Regions from separate parts of the Homo sapiens genome. Here region 1 is linked to region 2. The links are contacts of gene promoters, found by promoter capture Hi-C in blood cells and fetal thymus (Javierre and others, 2016). All regions are on one chromosome and are shown on one strand. Each heading gives the region's core, a stretch centred on a gene start or on the middle of the fragment in contact. The rest is flanking DNA. Distances are from core to core; before and after follow the strand shown.

Region 1 (7,123 bases), core at 1,439-3,938, 380 kb before region 2:
TGTTGTATGTTCTATGTGTTTGGACAAATATATTCATTATAGTATCATACAGAGTATTTTTCACTGCCCTAAGAATTCTGTGTTGTGCCTGTTCATTCCCTTTCTACCTATAACCACTGATCTTTTTACTGTCTCTACAGTTTTGCCTTTTCTACAGTGTCAAACTTGGAATCATAACTACTCAGCTTCTTTCTTCTTTTTTTCTTTTTGAGATGGGGTCTCTTTCTGTTGCCCAGGCTGGAGTGCAGTGGCGTGAACTCCACTCACTGCAACCTCCACCTGCCAGGCCCAAGCGATCCTCCCACCCCAGCCTCTTCAATAGCTGGGATTACAGTCACGCGCCACCACACCCAGCTAATTTTTGTATTGTTTTGCAGAGACTGGGTTTCACTATGTTGCCTAGGCTGGTCTTGAACTCCTGGGCTCAAGCCCAGCACCTTGGCTTCCCAATGTGCTGGGATTACAGGTGTGAACCACCATGCCTAGCCAGTACTCAGATTCTTCATACAACATATGCTAATTGAGCACATGGTCCAATACTGTGGGCCAGACACTGTTCTGGGTCTGGAGATAATGCAATGAATGAAATACAGAAACTCTTTACCCCCGTTAAGCTTCTATTCTAATAGGAGAGAAAGCAACATAATAAAAAAACAGCCATCCCTTGGTATTCAAGGGAGATTGGTTCTAGGACACCCCTCTTCAGATACCAAAATCTGCTGATACTTAAATCCCTTATATAAAATGGTGTAGTATTTACATACAGTCTCTGTGTATGTCCTCCTGTACATTTTAAATAATCGCTAAATTACTTATAATACCTAATACACTGTAAATGCTATGAAAATGTTTTTATACCATATTGTTTAGGGAACAATGATGGGGAAAACGTCTGTACATATTCAGTGCAGATGCAACAACTTTTTTTTTTCTTCTAACATTTTCAATCTGAGGTTGGTTGAATCTGTGGGTGCAGGTCAGATACAGGGGGCTGGCTGTATACTGAATGCTATGAAGTAAAGCTAAAATTGAGTGAGAATGTAGAGATTGACTGGGGATGTTTTAAGTAAGGTAATCAAGCAAGGCCTGGGATGAGATGGTATTTGAAACGAGACCTGAATAAAGAAAAGACATTATCCTTGCTACTGTTTAGAGGGAAAGCATTCCCACTGGAGGTAATGGGATATGGAGAAGACTTGAGGTGAGAGGCTGTGTTTGGTGAGAGCAATAGCAGCAAGATCATTGTGACTGGAGCTAGGTAAGGAGGATAATAGGAAATAAAGTCAGAATTAGCCACGGGCAGAAGAGGTAAAGCCTAGGGCAGGGCTTACTGTCTTAGGTGCAGTGAGATTCCCTTGGAGATATATGACCTTTGCACACCAGCTGTGTTAATTTCAGTTTTTTAAATGAATTCCACTCTTTAAAGGCTTTTGAAATTTTCTCTTCTAGACCTTATTTTTCCTTTTATCTTCTTTTTTGAAAGGAAAGATAGTTTTATGTCACACCAGGTTAACTTTCCTCTCTTCATTGGGTTCTTTTTCTTTTGAAGGTCTTGTCTCTTGGCAGTCTCAATTTTCTGATATACTCCAGCCCATACCTTGCTGCTTTTGCTTCTGTAATCAGGTGTTTGTTTGTTTTTTTTTTTTTTCCATCTCCATGACCTAGAAAAGCAATGTATTTCATGGAGTCATAGACTTTTTTAGTTAGAAGGAACCTCACAAGATCCCCTGGTCCACCCTTCTGCCTTCAGGCAGGTAAAATATTCTCCTCATTTGACAGGTCAGCCAGCTGAGGTCTGAAAAGTTAAATGATGTACAGAGACCACACATACCTAGTTAGTGGCTGAATAGGTGCAGATTGAGTATCCCTTATCCAAAATGCTTGGGACAAGAAGTGTTTCAGATTTGGGATTTTTTTTAACTTTGGAATATTTGCATTATACTTACTGGTTCAGTATTCCTACCCTGAGGTCCAAAATGCTACCATGAGCATTTTATTTGAGCATCATTGGTGCTCAACAAGTTTTGGATTTTGAGGCTGGACACAGTGGCTCACACCTGTAATCCTATCCTTTGTGAGGCCAAAGTGGGTGGATCACTTGAGCTCAGGAGCTTGAGACCAGCCTGGGCAACATAGTGAAACCCTGTTTCTATGAAAAAATTAGCCAGGCATGGTGACACATGTTTGTGGTCCCAGCTACTCAGGAGGCTAAGGTGAAAGGATCTCTTGAGCCTAGTAGGCAGAGGTTGCAGTAAGCCAAGATTGCAACACTGCACTCCAGCCTGGGTAACACAGTGAGATACCATCTCAGAAACAAAAAAAGTTTTGGATTTTGGAGGATTACAAATTTCAGATTTCAACATTTCAGGTTAGGAATGCACAACCTCTATTGGAATTCAGGTTTCTTTCCGCCTAAAGTAATATTCCTCATTACATGTGCTAGTGTTTAGTAGATATTTTCCTAAGGAAGATTTAATCACTGGAATTTCTGAAATGAGAGGCCTTGCAGTGCCTAGTAAAATGACATTGTTGGCATTGCAAGTTGCTTTCATTCGTGGCTCTAGGTGATAGGCATTCATTTGAGTAAAGACTTATGCTTTGCTATTTAAAGCTTTGTATACTTTTTTGGAGGGTGGTCTGAAATGTGTGCTTTACTTTAGGTTGTGACTATTCTTTTCTGTGTTTTTTTTCTCCCAGAAGAAAAATTTGCCCAAGCAGTGTGTTTTTTGCTTGTAGACCTGTATATATTAACCTACCAAGCTGAGAAAGCTTTGCATCTTCTTGCTGTCCTAGAAAAAATGATTTCACAGGGTAACAATAACAAAAATGGAAAGAATGAGGTGAGTCTTTAGAGGTGATCAGACTAAAATCTAAAATGTGATTAATTCTCTCTACTTGTTGGTTTACTGGATTAAAAAGAAAGCAATTAAAATATGATTAATGTTTGTGGTTATGAACTATTAACAGCTTAAAGATACAATTTTCATATTATAAGCTTTACCATTTTAAAGTGTAGAGTTTAGTGGTTTTGAGTGTACTCACATTTGTACAACCATTACTACTATCTAATTTCAAAATATTTTTATCACCCCAAAAAGAAACCCTGTACCATTTGCAGTCACTCCCCATTTCCCCCTTTCCTCAGCCCCAAGCAGCCGTTAATCTAATTACTGTCTCTGAATTTACTGTCTGGACATTACATATGAATGGAATCATAATATGCGGCTATTTGTCACTGGCTTTTTTTACTTAGTGTAATGCTTTCAAGCTTCATCCATATTTTAGCATATACTTATTTTTGTTTCATGTACTTCATGCCTTTTGTGGCTGAATAATATTCCATTCATTATATGAATATGCCACATTTTAAAAAATTCTTTATCAGTTGGTGGACATTTGGGTTCTTTTCTACTTTTTGGTTATTATATATAGTGCTTCTGTGACCATTCATGTACAAATTTTTGTGTGGATATATGTTTTCAGTTACATTGGATATAATATTTAGGAATAGAATCACTGGGTTATATGGTATCTTAACTCTATATTTAACCCTATACAAGACTGTTTTACAAAGTGGCTGCACTATTTTAAATTCCCACCGGCCACTTGTGAGGTTGTAATTTCTCCACATTGTTACCAACACTTGTTATTGTCTATCTTTAAAAAAAAATTAGCTATCTTAGGGGGTGTGAAGTGGTATCTTGTTACAGTTTTGATTTTTATTTTCCTAATGACTAAGGATGTACATTGAGCATCTTTTCATATATGAGCTATTATTTTTATAGAATTGAAAGATTGGAATTAAGACAATAGAATCCATAACCTGGATAAACACTATTGCTTTCATTAGGGAAAATTTCATCATTAAAGTTCTTCAAAAAAAAAAAAAAAATACATGGCTGGGCGTGGTAGCTCACACCTGTAATCCCAGCACTTTGAGAGTCCAAGGCGGGTGGATCACCTGAGGTCAGGAGTTAGAGACCAGCCTGGCCAACATGGTGAAACCGTGTCTTTACTAAAAATACAAAAAATAGCTGGGCATGGTGGCACACAACTGTAATTCCAACTACTCAGGAGGTTGAGGCACGAGAATCACTTGAAACTGGGAGGCGGAGATTGCAGTGAGCCAAGATTACGCCACTGCACTCCAGCCTGGGAGACAGAGCAAGACTCAAACTCAAAAATAAAAAAGCATACATTTATGATGTTTAAGCTTCACCATGTTCTGGTGAGAGACTTGGTGCCCAGTATGAGTATATCCTGGGTCTCATGTTTTTCTTTTATTTGTGCTTCTGGTTATCAAGGGATGACCCTTCTTACTTCCGTTTTCTGTCCCTTTGTTTTAAAAGGAGTATTTGCAGGAAACGTTGCCAATACCTTTTTGCCTGTGTACATTCTTGATGTTTAAAAAGAAAATAAACATCTGGCATTACTTTTTTCAATTTAAGTGTGTATTCATAAGGGATTTCAGTTGAATAACCTTAGCATTATACCGAAACATTGTGTAGTAAAATATTTATATTCAGTACTTGTAAAATTTGATTAAATATAATTTAATTTAGCAGATGCTTATGTGCTCTGCCCGGTTCTAAGGTACTCTGCTAGGTACTAAGGTGACAAAAACAAAAACGTTGCAGTCCTTGCTTTCAAGGATCTCATGTCTAGGAAGAGATAAATTGGGCAACATCTGGTCATGGACAAGGAGGAAAGAGGTGAAAGAGGTTAGGGAATGTTTCAAAGGAATTTGGATGTTTGTTTTGGGCCTTGGAAGATGGTTAATAGTTTGACAAGTCAGACAAGGAGGGGTAGAGCAGGATAACCAGCCTGGCAGAGAATATCACAAAAGGTATGAGCTTAATGGTGTGCTGGAGACCTTTCTGGTAATGAAATGAACAGTACCAGAGAAATGCAGAGGAGAGCAGTGGGAGATGATGTTGGCAATATGAGTGTGAGTGATAGCTTGAAGAACTTTGAATACTAGAAAGTTCAAATTTGATATGATTGGCAGTGTTCATAACAGAGAAAGTTTTAAGAAGTGGGTAGATCTGTTCTGGGTTTTAGAAAGATATTCTGAGTTTTGCTTAAAGTAATATTCATGTTTTTTAAAACAAGCCCAGGCTGGCCACAGTGGAGACCCCCGTCTCTATGAAAAATTAAAATTGTAAATAAATAAAACCAGCTCATTATTACGTTCGACTGTGAGCTTCTCATGAGTAGAGCTTCCTGTCACCCACTCTAGACTACTGAACCTCAGTCTCTAGGAGTGGGACCTGGGATTCTGCATTTTTTAAAGACAGGGTCTTGCTCTGCCACCTCAGGCTGGAGTATAGTAGTAGCACAATCACGCCTCACTGCAGCCTTGATCTCCTGGGCTCAGGCAGTCTTCCCACCTCAGCTTCCTGAGTAGCTGGGACTACAGGTACATGGCCACCATGCCCAGCTAATTTTTGTATTTTTTGTAGAGATGCGATTTTGCCATGTTACTCAAGCTGGTCTCGAACTCCTGGGCTCAAGCGATCCGCCCGCCTCTGCCTTCCAAAGTTCTGGGATTACAGGCATGAACCACCATTTCCCACAAATTCTACATTTTGAAAATGCTCTCTAGGTAATTTAGATTAGCTCACTTGGAAATCACTGATTTAAATTATGGTCAAAAATATTTAATTTTGATAAACTTTGTTTCATCACCCTACAGACTGGTAATAACAACAACAAAGATGGATCTAATCATAAAGCTGAAAGTGGAGCTCTAATAGAAGCTGCAAAATCAAAGATACATCAGGTAGTATAAATTTTAAAGGGGGGCAATACATCACATATATTTAATTGTAGTTATGACAAATGAAGCAATGAGATAGATCATTGGAAGCAGTCAATAATTCAAGGTGCATATATTTGTTTGTCTTTTGAAGTATTGTAGTTTAGAAGCACATTTATCCTAAATACATTTTTCTTAAGAGGATAATATAATTTATTTAAATTGCTCTATAAATAAAGTTTGAGAGAAATGGCACGGGAATGTACTGCATGATAAAATCAACTGGAATTTTAAAAAGTCATTGTTAGCCATGTGCAGAAGAGGATTGATAGGATTTTTGCCCGGAACTTGAGTATTTAAGTTTTTTGTTTGTTTTTTGAGACGGAGCCTCACTCTGTCACCCAAGCTGCAGTGCAATGGTGCGATCTCGGCTCGCTGCAACCTCTGCCTCCCAGTTTCAAGCGATTCTCCTGCCTCAGCCTTCCTGAGTAGCTGGGATTACTAGTGCGCATCACCACACCCGGATAATTTTTTGTATTTTTAGTAGAGACAGGGTTTCATCATGTTGGCCAGGCTGGTCTCAAACTCCTGACCTCAGGTGATCCACCTGCCTCGGCCTCCAAAGTACTGGGATTACAGGCGTGAGCCACCACATCTGGCTAAGTTTTTATTCTACCGTGATTTTAGTATTTTGAAGTATATTCGAAGAGTACAGTGAAAATAGCATATTTTCTAAAATTGTAAACTTGATTTAGCAAGTAATTAGTGTAACTATGTTGTAAATAGATTGGGTTTTCTTAACTAGAAAGTAAAACTGTATGTAAATCCACCATAGTTTTAACATACTAACATTTTCCCTTTGACAGTACAAAGTACGAGCTTATATCCAAATGAAGTCTCTGAAAGCATGTAAAAGGGAAATCAAGTCAGTCATGAATACAGCTGGAAATGTAAGTTTCTTCTGGACTTTTGTTTTTCAATTTGTGTCTTTCTTATTTAGACTATGGGTATTGTCAGGTTTAAATAATTTATCTTAGTCTTTTACATATACTGCCAGATATGAACCTTGCTATTTTAAAGTTGGGAAGTAGTAATAATACTGTGTCTATAGTTTAATTTTTTTTTTTTTACTTAAAATTACAACAAGCACTTTTCTATTTTATGTAACCTTCAAAACCACCATTTTAAATAACTGCCTATTTTTCTGTGACTGGTTTATCACAACTCACTTAAACATTTTGCTAATATTAGACATTTAGGTTATTTTAGAATTTTTTAGTATTATACTCAAAACATTTATGGCCAGGTGGTGACTCACCTGTAATCCCAGCACTTTAGGAGGCCAAGGTGGGCGGATCACCTGAG
Region 2 (6,668 bases), core at 1,406-3,905:
CATTTTCTTACCACATGTTCTATACGTTTAAAGTTTCTCTACAGTAAGCATGTACTTGTTTTATAAAAACATTCCAAATCAGCGGTATTCAAAGTGTGGTCTGGAGAGAGCCCTTCAGGGGTCCAATTAGTCAAAACTATTTTTATTATAATTCCAAGCCATTACTGCCTTTTCCATTCTCACTCTGTCCTGAGGGGGTGGAGTCTTCCAGAGGCTATGTGACATGTGATATGGCAACAGATTTAATGCAGAAATAAACATGAAAATTTGACTGTCTTCTATTAAGAGACATTGAAAGAGATTTGCAGAAATGTAAAACAGTGCAACTCTTCACCCTAAAATTTGGGGAGAAATACTATTGTTTTTCAAATATATATATTGTTTATTAACGTGTAATGATGTAGTATTTCTTAACAAATAGTTTAAAATATTCTCTAGGGCTGGGCACAGTGGCTGACGCCTATAATTCCAGCACTTTGGGAGGCCGAGGCAGGCAGATTACCTGAGGTCAGGAGTTCAAGACCAGCCTGGCCAACATGGTAAAACCCTGTCTCTACTAAAAATTCAAAAATTAGCCAGGCATGGTGGTGGATGCATGTAATCCCAGCTACTCGGGAGGCTGAGGCAGGAGAATCACTTGAACCTGGGAGGTGGAAGTTGTAGTGAGCCAAGATCGTGCCACTGCACTCCAGCCTGGGCAAAAGAGCGAGACTCTGTCTCAAAAAAAAAAAAAAAAAAAAAAAAAGGAATATTCTCTTAATTTCTAGGACAGCTAAAATTTAGTTAAAATTTGAGAACCGCTGGGTCACGAGGTCAGGAGATCGAGACCATCCTGGCTAACATGGTGAAACCCCGTCTCTACTAAAAATACAAAAAAAGAAAAAAATTAGTCGGGTGTGATGGCGGGCGCCTGTAGTCCCAGCTACTCGGGAGGCTGAGGCAGGAGAATGGCGTGAACCCTAAAGAAATGTAAACAAGGAGATAATGGAAAGCTAGACTGCTGGTATCTTTCTTTAGCTGTGGGCACAGAAGCCCAAGAGGGACACCTAGGCACCTGAAATGAGAATTCCTGGGGTGATGCCAGCCTCCCTGTGTGGGCCTCAGGTATGGCAGCCACAGGGCATCCACCCTGACCCAATGACGCTGCACAAGACTGATGAGCTCACATCAGACAGATTGACCCTGTCCACCTGTTCCTGGTTCATAAATCCTTCTCTCTCTCCCTACCCCCACTCCCAGATACTGGTTAAGATCTGCCTTTCCCCTAGCCCCTTACCCTGCCACTGTTCTCCTGAACTGTGCCCCAGTTCCACCTTCCCCAGTGGTTCTCACAGCTGGCTAGCTCTGACTCCTAAGGTCCTACGGGCCTTCTGGACAAGAAAACTCTGTCTACATACTGGGGTAGGGGAACCACAGACGGGGTGAAGAGGGAGCAGCAAATAATCTGTGCTGACTTTTTCCCAAAATGAAAACATTTTCAGCAGCTGTTTTCCAAATACTTAAGATGTTCAATCTTGGTTGTAGATAAATGTACCACTTTTCTCTGCCCTAGGCACGTTATTGAAAGCGTTATTAAAGGGTGTAACTTACAAGTCAACGGTGTCAAATGCTACCAGCTCTTACTTAAAGCATACTGCAGGCTCAGCCCACCTACACCCTGGAGGAACCAAAGTTGGTCCGCGGAACGTGCAGAGGAGCAGCTTGCAACTACCCACTCTCCTTTCCGCAGGTGTGATGCAAACCTCCCCAGGCAGCGCTTTGGAGCCCCTCAGCCAGTCGCCTCAGCTCGGACGCAGCGAGTGAAGCTGTCCTTCCTCTCCCACCAACTGTGCACGCCCCGCACCTCACCTATTCGCCTCGCCAGCCCTGCCCCGATCAACGATGGCATCCCCCGGCAGCCTGCCTATTCCCCCCCTCAACCTGGACCCCCAAACGCCGAAGGAAAACGGTCCCACAAATACAAAGAAAAACCCAAGCCAAAGGGCAGGCGACGGGGAGTGGTGAGAAAGGAACAAGATGCACGAAGAGGGAGAGCACCCAGAGGGGAAATAACCCAATGTTCCCACTGCAAGGGCCTCTCCTGACCCCATTTTTCTCCTTCCGGAGCGCTCCGCAGAGCACCAACTGGGAAAGCGAGGGCGCCCCAAACCAGAGCCGGAGGCACCCTCTAACCCGCGCAACTTGGAATCCCCTCCCGGAAAGCCAACTTAGGAAATGTTTACACGCACCTCGTCTCAACACCTCGTTACAGATGGGGAAGTGGATCCAAGCGCAAAGGGCGGCCGGAGCGGAACGCACAAGCGACCGAGCTGCCTGGAAGGACGCGCGCCCCGCCCGGCCCGCCCCCGACGGGAAGGCCGGTCCACTGCCTGCGTTCCGCCGGCCGCGAGCCTGCTGGGGGGCACTTCGGGGCTCAGGCTCCCCGCCCTGCGGGACCGCGGGTGGCTGCGACCCCAGCCCGGTTCCCCGCCAGCCTGTCCCCTAGCAATGCCTCCCCGTACCCGGGTCCCGCAGACTTACGCGCAAGCCGCGCGTAGGGCCCAGAAGCAGCAGAACCAGCAACAGAGGGAGGATGCGAACCAGGAACCCCGGCATGACCACCAGCCTCCCGGCTCTGCAGTCGGCGCCCAGGCCGGCCGCTTCGCGTCACTTGACTAAGGACCCACGGCCTGGCACCGCCCCTCGTCGGCCCAGCAGCCAGCCCTCGCGCCTGCTCAGCCCCGCGCCCCGCCCCGCTGTGGCCGAGCCGGGCGGGTGGGGGCGGCTAGGAGGCTGCGCGCCGCCGCGTGACTCCAGGATAGTACTATCTGGGTTTTGCAGGCGTCTTCCCTGGGAAGGGACCCTTTGGAACTGCAGTCCGGAGGGCCTGCTTTCAGCAGCTTGATAACGCGCCTCGGGGATTGGACATGAATCATGGTCTCCCTGTTCCCTGGCTGCCTTGAGAGAGCAGAAGAGGGAAATTGTTAATCATTAAACCTAAACGCCCTAGATGGAATCCGCGTCTCATATACGGGCTCTTTGAATAACTCTAAGCCGGGGGTTAGCAAAATGTGGTCGGTCCCTGGAGCCACTGTATCAACTCACCTGGAACTTGTTAGAATGAAAATCCTGCTCACGCCTGTAATCCCAGCACTTTGGGAGGCCGAGGCGGGCGGATCGCCTGAGGTCAGGAGTTCCAGACCAGCCTGACCAGTATGATGAAACCCCGTCTCTACTAAAAATACAAAAATTAGCCGGGCGTGGTGGCAGGCGCCTGTAATCCCAGCTACTGAGGAGGCTGAGACAGGAGAATCGCTTGAACCCGGGAGGTGGAGGTTGCAGTAAACCGAGATCGAGCCATTGCGCTCCAGCCTGGGCAATAAGAGCGAAATTCCGTATCAAAAAAAAATTTTCTTTTTTAAAATAACCTTAGTTTATGCCTTGGTGTTCCAAAAAGCCTTTTTACATTGTATAACAAAGTAGCCAAAATTCTATTTGTTCACTCCTTTCTCCTTTCCTACCGGACATGTCCTTGAGAGATTGAGAAAGTATCAGAAAGGACATTTCATTGAGAGATTGAGAAAGTATCAGTTACTGGCTTTTCTTAGGTTTTTGTTTTTTGGTTTGGGGGGTTGTTTTTTTGTTTTGTTTTTGTGTTTTTTGAGACAGGGTCTCACTCTGTCACCCAGGCTGGAGTGGGGCGCAATCACGGCTTACTGCAGCTTTGGCCTCCTGGGCTCAAGCAATTCTCCCGTCTCAGCCTACCAAGTGGCTGGGACTACAGGCGTGCGCCACCACACCCGGCTAATTTTTGTATTTTTTGTAGAGACAGGGTCTCACCACGTTTCCCAGGCAGGTCTTGAAGTTCTGGGATCAAGCAATCTACCTGCCTGGAACTCCCAAAATGCTGGAATTACAGACATGAGCCACCGTGCCTGGCTTCTTTTCATGCCTGTAGTACCAATTCCGTGTCCTTGCACTGTGAAGTCCTTTCCAAGCTCTGCAATTCTAGTTCAGTATTAAAGAACAAGGGCTCTGGAGGAAGTACACTTGAGTTGGAATTCCAGCTCTGCCACTTACTGTCTGTGTAACTGTGGGCAAATTACTTAACCTCTCTGAGCTTAGTTTCTTTGTTGGTAAAGCAGGGCTAATAATATCAAATTCACTGGATAATTGGGGAAATTACCAGAGATGATGACGATAAGAAGCTTGGTATATACAGGATGTTAGTGGGACAGTTGATGAAATCAGAATTAGACTTGTAGGTTAGATTAGTACCATGCATCAATGTTAATTTCCTTTTTGGGGGGGTGGGGGGACAGAGTCTCACTCTGTCACCCAGGCTGGAGTGCAGTGGCACAATCTCGGCTCACTGCAACCTCCGCCTCCCAGGTTCAAGTGATTCTCCCACCTCAGCCTCCAAAGTAGCTGGGATTACAGGCACCCACCACTAGGCTTGGCTAATTTTTGTATTTTTAGTAGAGATGGGGTATCACCATGTTAGCCAGGCTGGTCTGGAGCTCTTGACCTCAAGTGATTTGCCCACCTCGGCCTCCCAAAGTGCTGGGATTACAGGCATGAGCCACTGTGCCCGGCCGCATCAATGTTAACTTTCTGATTTTGATAATGGTACACGGTCTAAATATTAAATAATAGTTTTGTATTAGTGTATTGATTTGGGTAACGGTAATGGTAATTTTGGTAATGGTTATATAAAAGAACATCCTTGTTTTTTAGGAAACAAAAGGGCATCATCTTTGCAACTGATTCTCAAACAGTTCACAAAAAAAAATGGAGAGAGAGAGAAAGAGAGAGAGAGAGAGGGAGAGAAATGGTATTCCAGGCATGAAAAGAACGTGAGAAAGAAAAGCAAATGTGGTAAAATGTTAACATTTGGAAAATCAATGAAGGAATTATTTTTACTCTTTTTTTCAACTTTTTGTTTCTAAGCCTGAAATTATTGCAGAACGAAGTTTAAAAACAAAACAAAACAAAAATCCTTAACACATGGCAGATTCAACTTCTTCTACCTTCTTTCCTACTCTGTACACTCAGGGTTATCATATGCAATAGGTATTTTTAACTGAACTGAGGTAGAAAGGGTTTAGAGCAGGAGTTGGCAAACTAAGGGCAGAGGATCAAATCTGGCCTGCTGCCTGTTTTTCTTTTTCTTTTTAAAATTCTTTTTACTAAGAATCGGCACAATTTGCTGCCAGTTTTTCTATGGCCTGCCACCTAAAAATGGTTTTTACATTTTTAAATGAATGAAAAAAAATCAAAAGAATAATATTTTATGACATTTGAAAATGTTGTAAGTTTCCTGTGTCAGTGTCCATAAATAAAGTTTTGTGGGGTTGGTTTTTGTTTTTTTTGTTTTGTTTTGTTTTTTTAGACACAGTCTTGCTCTGTCACCCAGGCTGGAGTGCAGTGGTGCAATCATAGCTCACAGCAGCCTTGAACTCCTGAGCTGAAGCAGTCGTCCCATGTCGGCCTCCTGAGTAGCTAAGTAGCTGGGACTACAGGCGAGTGCCACCATGCCTGAATAATTTTTTTTTTTCTAAAGACAAGATCTTGCCTTGTTGCCAGGGTTGGTCTTGAACTCCTGGCCTCAAGTAATCTGCCCACTTTGGCTGCCAAAGTGCCAAGATTACACATAAATAGTTTTCTTAGAACACAGCCACCTATAATCCTCTGCATATTGCATATGGTTGCTTTCACGCTACAACGGTAGAATGGAGTAGTTGCAACACAGATCTTAGGACCTACAAAACTGAATATATTTATGTTCTAGCCCTTTACAGTATAAGCTTGCCAAAGGAATATAGATTGTAGATTGTTTCTGAGATTTTTAGTATTTGACTATGTTTGTAGTTGAAATGGCAATAGTAGTAATAGCCATTGTTGTGCTGAATGCTTTACCAGTATGTGTCACTATTCCTCCCAATCCGAGCTGCATGCTCTTATCCACATTTCACAGATGAGAAAGCTGAGACCCAGAGGAGTTAAATGACTTGCCAGTAGCCACAGAGCTGGGGAGCAGTAGAGTCTCTAAAGTTACATTGCCTGACGTTAGGGCCTGAGTTATTTTCACAAGGCTATGCTTCTGCTCATAGTGTACTGTTTGGTTCCCATTTAAATGCACAGACAGAGTGTGCTGGATGCAAAGCCCCCTGCATACTGGAGAATATGAAGGGACCATGAGAAGGCTGTCACCCTGCAGGCACTCATCTCTAAACATGGTACATGCTCTAATATAGACTAATACTTCTCAGAGTCTGATCCTTAGACCAGTGCTGTGCAATAAGTACAGAAATTCAGCCTAGGCACTTAGAAACTTGCAGCAATTTGAGAAAGTAAGTCTATCTGTTGAATCTAATAATGAACAAAATCATTACGCATCTATTTTTATTTCATTGTTCTAGTAATGTTTTATTTTTATTTTTTTAGACAGAGTTTCGCTTTTATTGCCCAGGCTGGAGTGCAATGGCACGATCTTGGCTCACTGCAACCTCTGCCTCCTGGATTCAAGCGATTCTCCTGCCTCAGCCTCCTGAGTAGCTGGGATTACAGGCATGTGCCACCATGCCCCGCTACTTTTATATTTTCAGTAGAGATGGGGTTTCTCCATGTTGGTCAGGCTGGTCTCAAACTCCTGACCTCAGGTGATCCACCTGCCTCGGCCTCCCAAA

The links. Contacts are between HindIII fragments. The CHiCAGO score rates a contact against its expected background, and 5 or more counts as called.
Region 1: a fragment that was not itself captured here is called in contact with the fragment with the promoter of GLB1 in region 2 in 2 of 17 cell types (erythroblasts and M2 macrophages); the score reaches 6.7 in erythroblasts.

What each region holds. Positions count from the first base shown.
Region 1 is chr3:32,710,530-32,717,652 of GRCh38, forward strand. CNOT10 (CCR4-NOT transcription complex subunit 10) reads left to right here. Exons shown (of 19, transcript NM_015442.3): 5 at 2,698-2,840; 6 at 5,696-5,782; 7 at 6,625-6,708. Among named protein-coding and RNA genes, the nearest start is that of CNOT10-AS1, 23 kb to the right of the region's middle. The HindIII fragment of the contact is 158 bases long and covers 2,610-2,767 here.
Region 2 is chr3:33,094,491-33,101,158 of GRCh38, forward strand. GLB1 (galactosidase beta 1) reads right to left here and starts at 2,656. Exons shown (of 16, transcript NM_000404.4): 1 at 2,521-2,656. The coding sequence starts at 2,595. It overlaps TMPPE (transmembrane protein with metallophosphoesterase domain), which reads right to left and starts at 2,656. Exons shown (of 2, transcript NM_001039770.3): 1 at 2,229-2,656. RefSeq lists a silencer at 2,244-2,853. The HindIII fragment of the contact is 8,101 bases long and covers 1-4,185 here.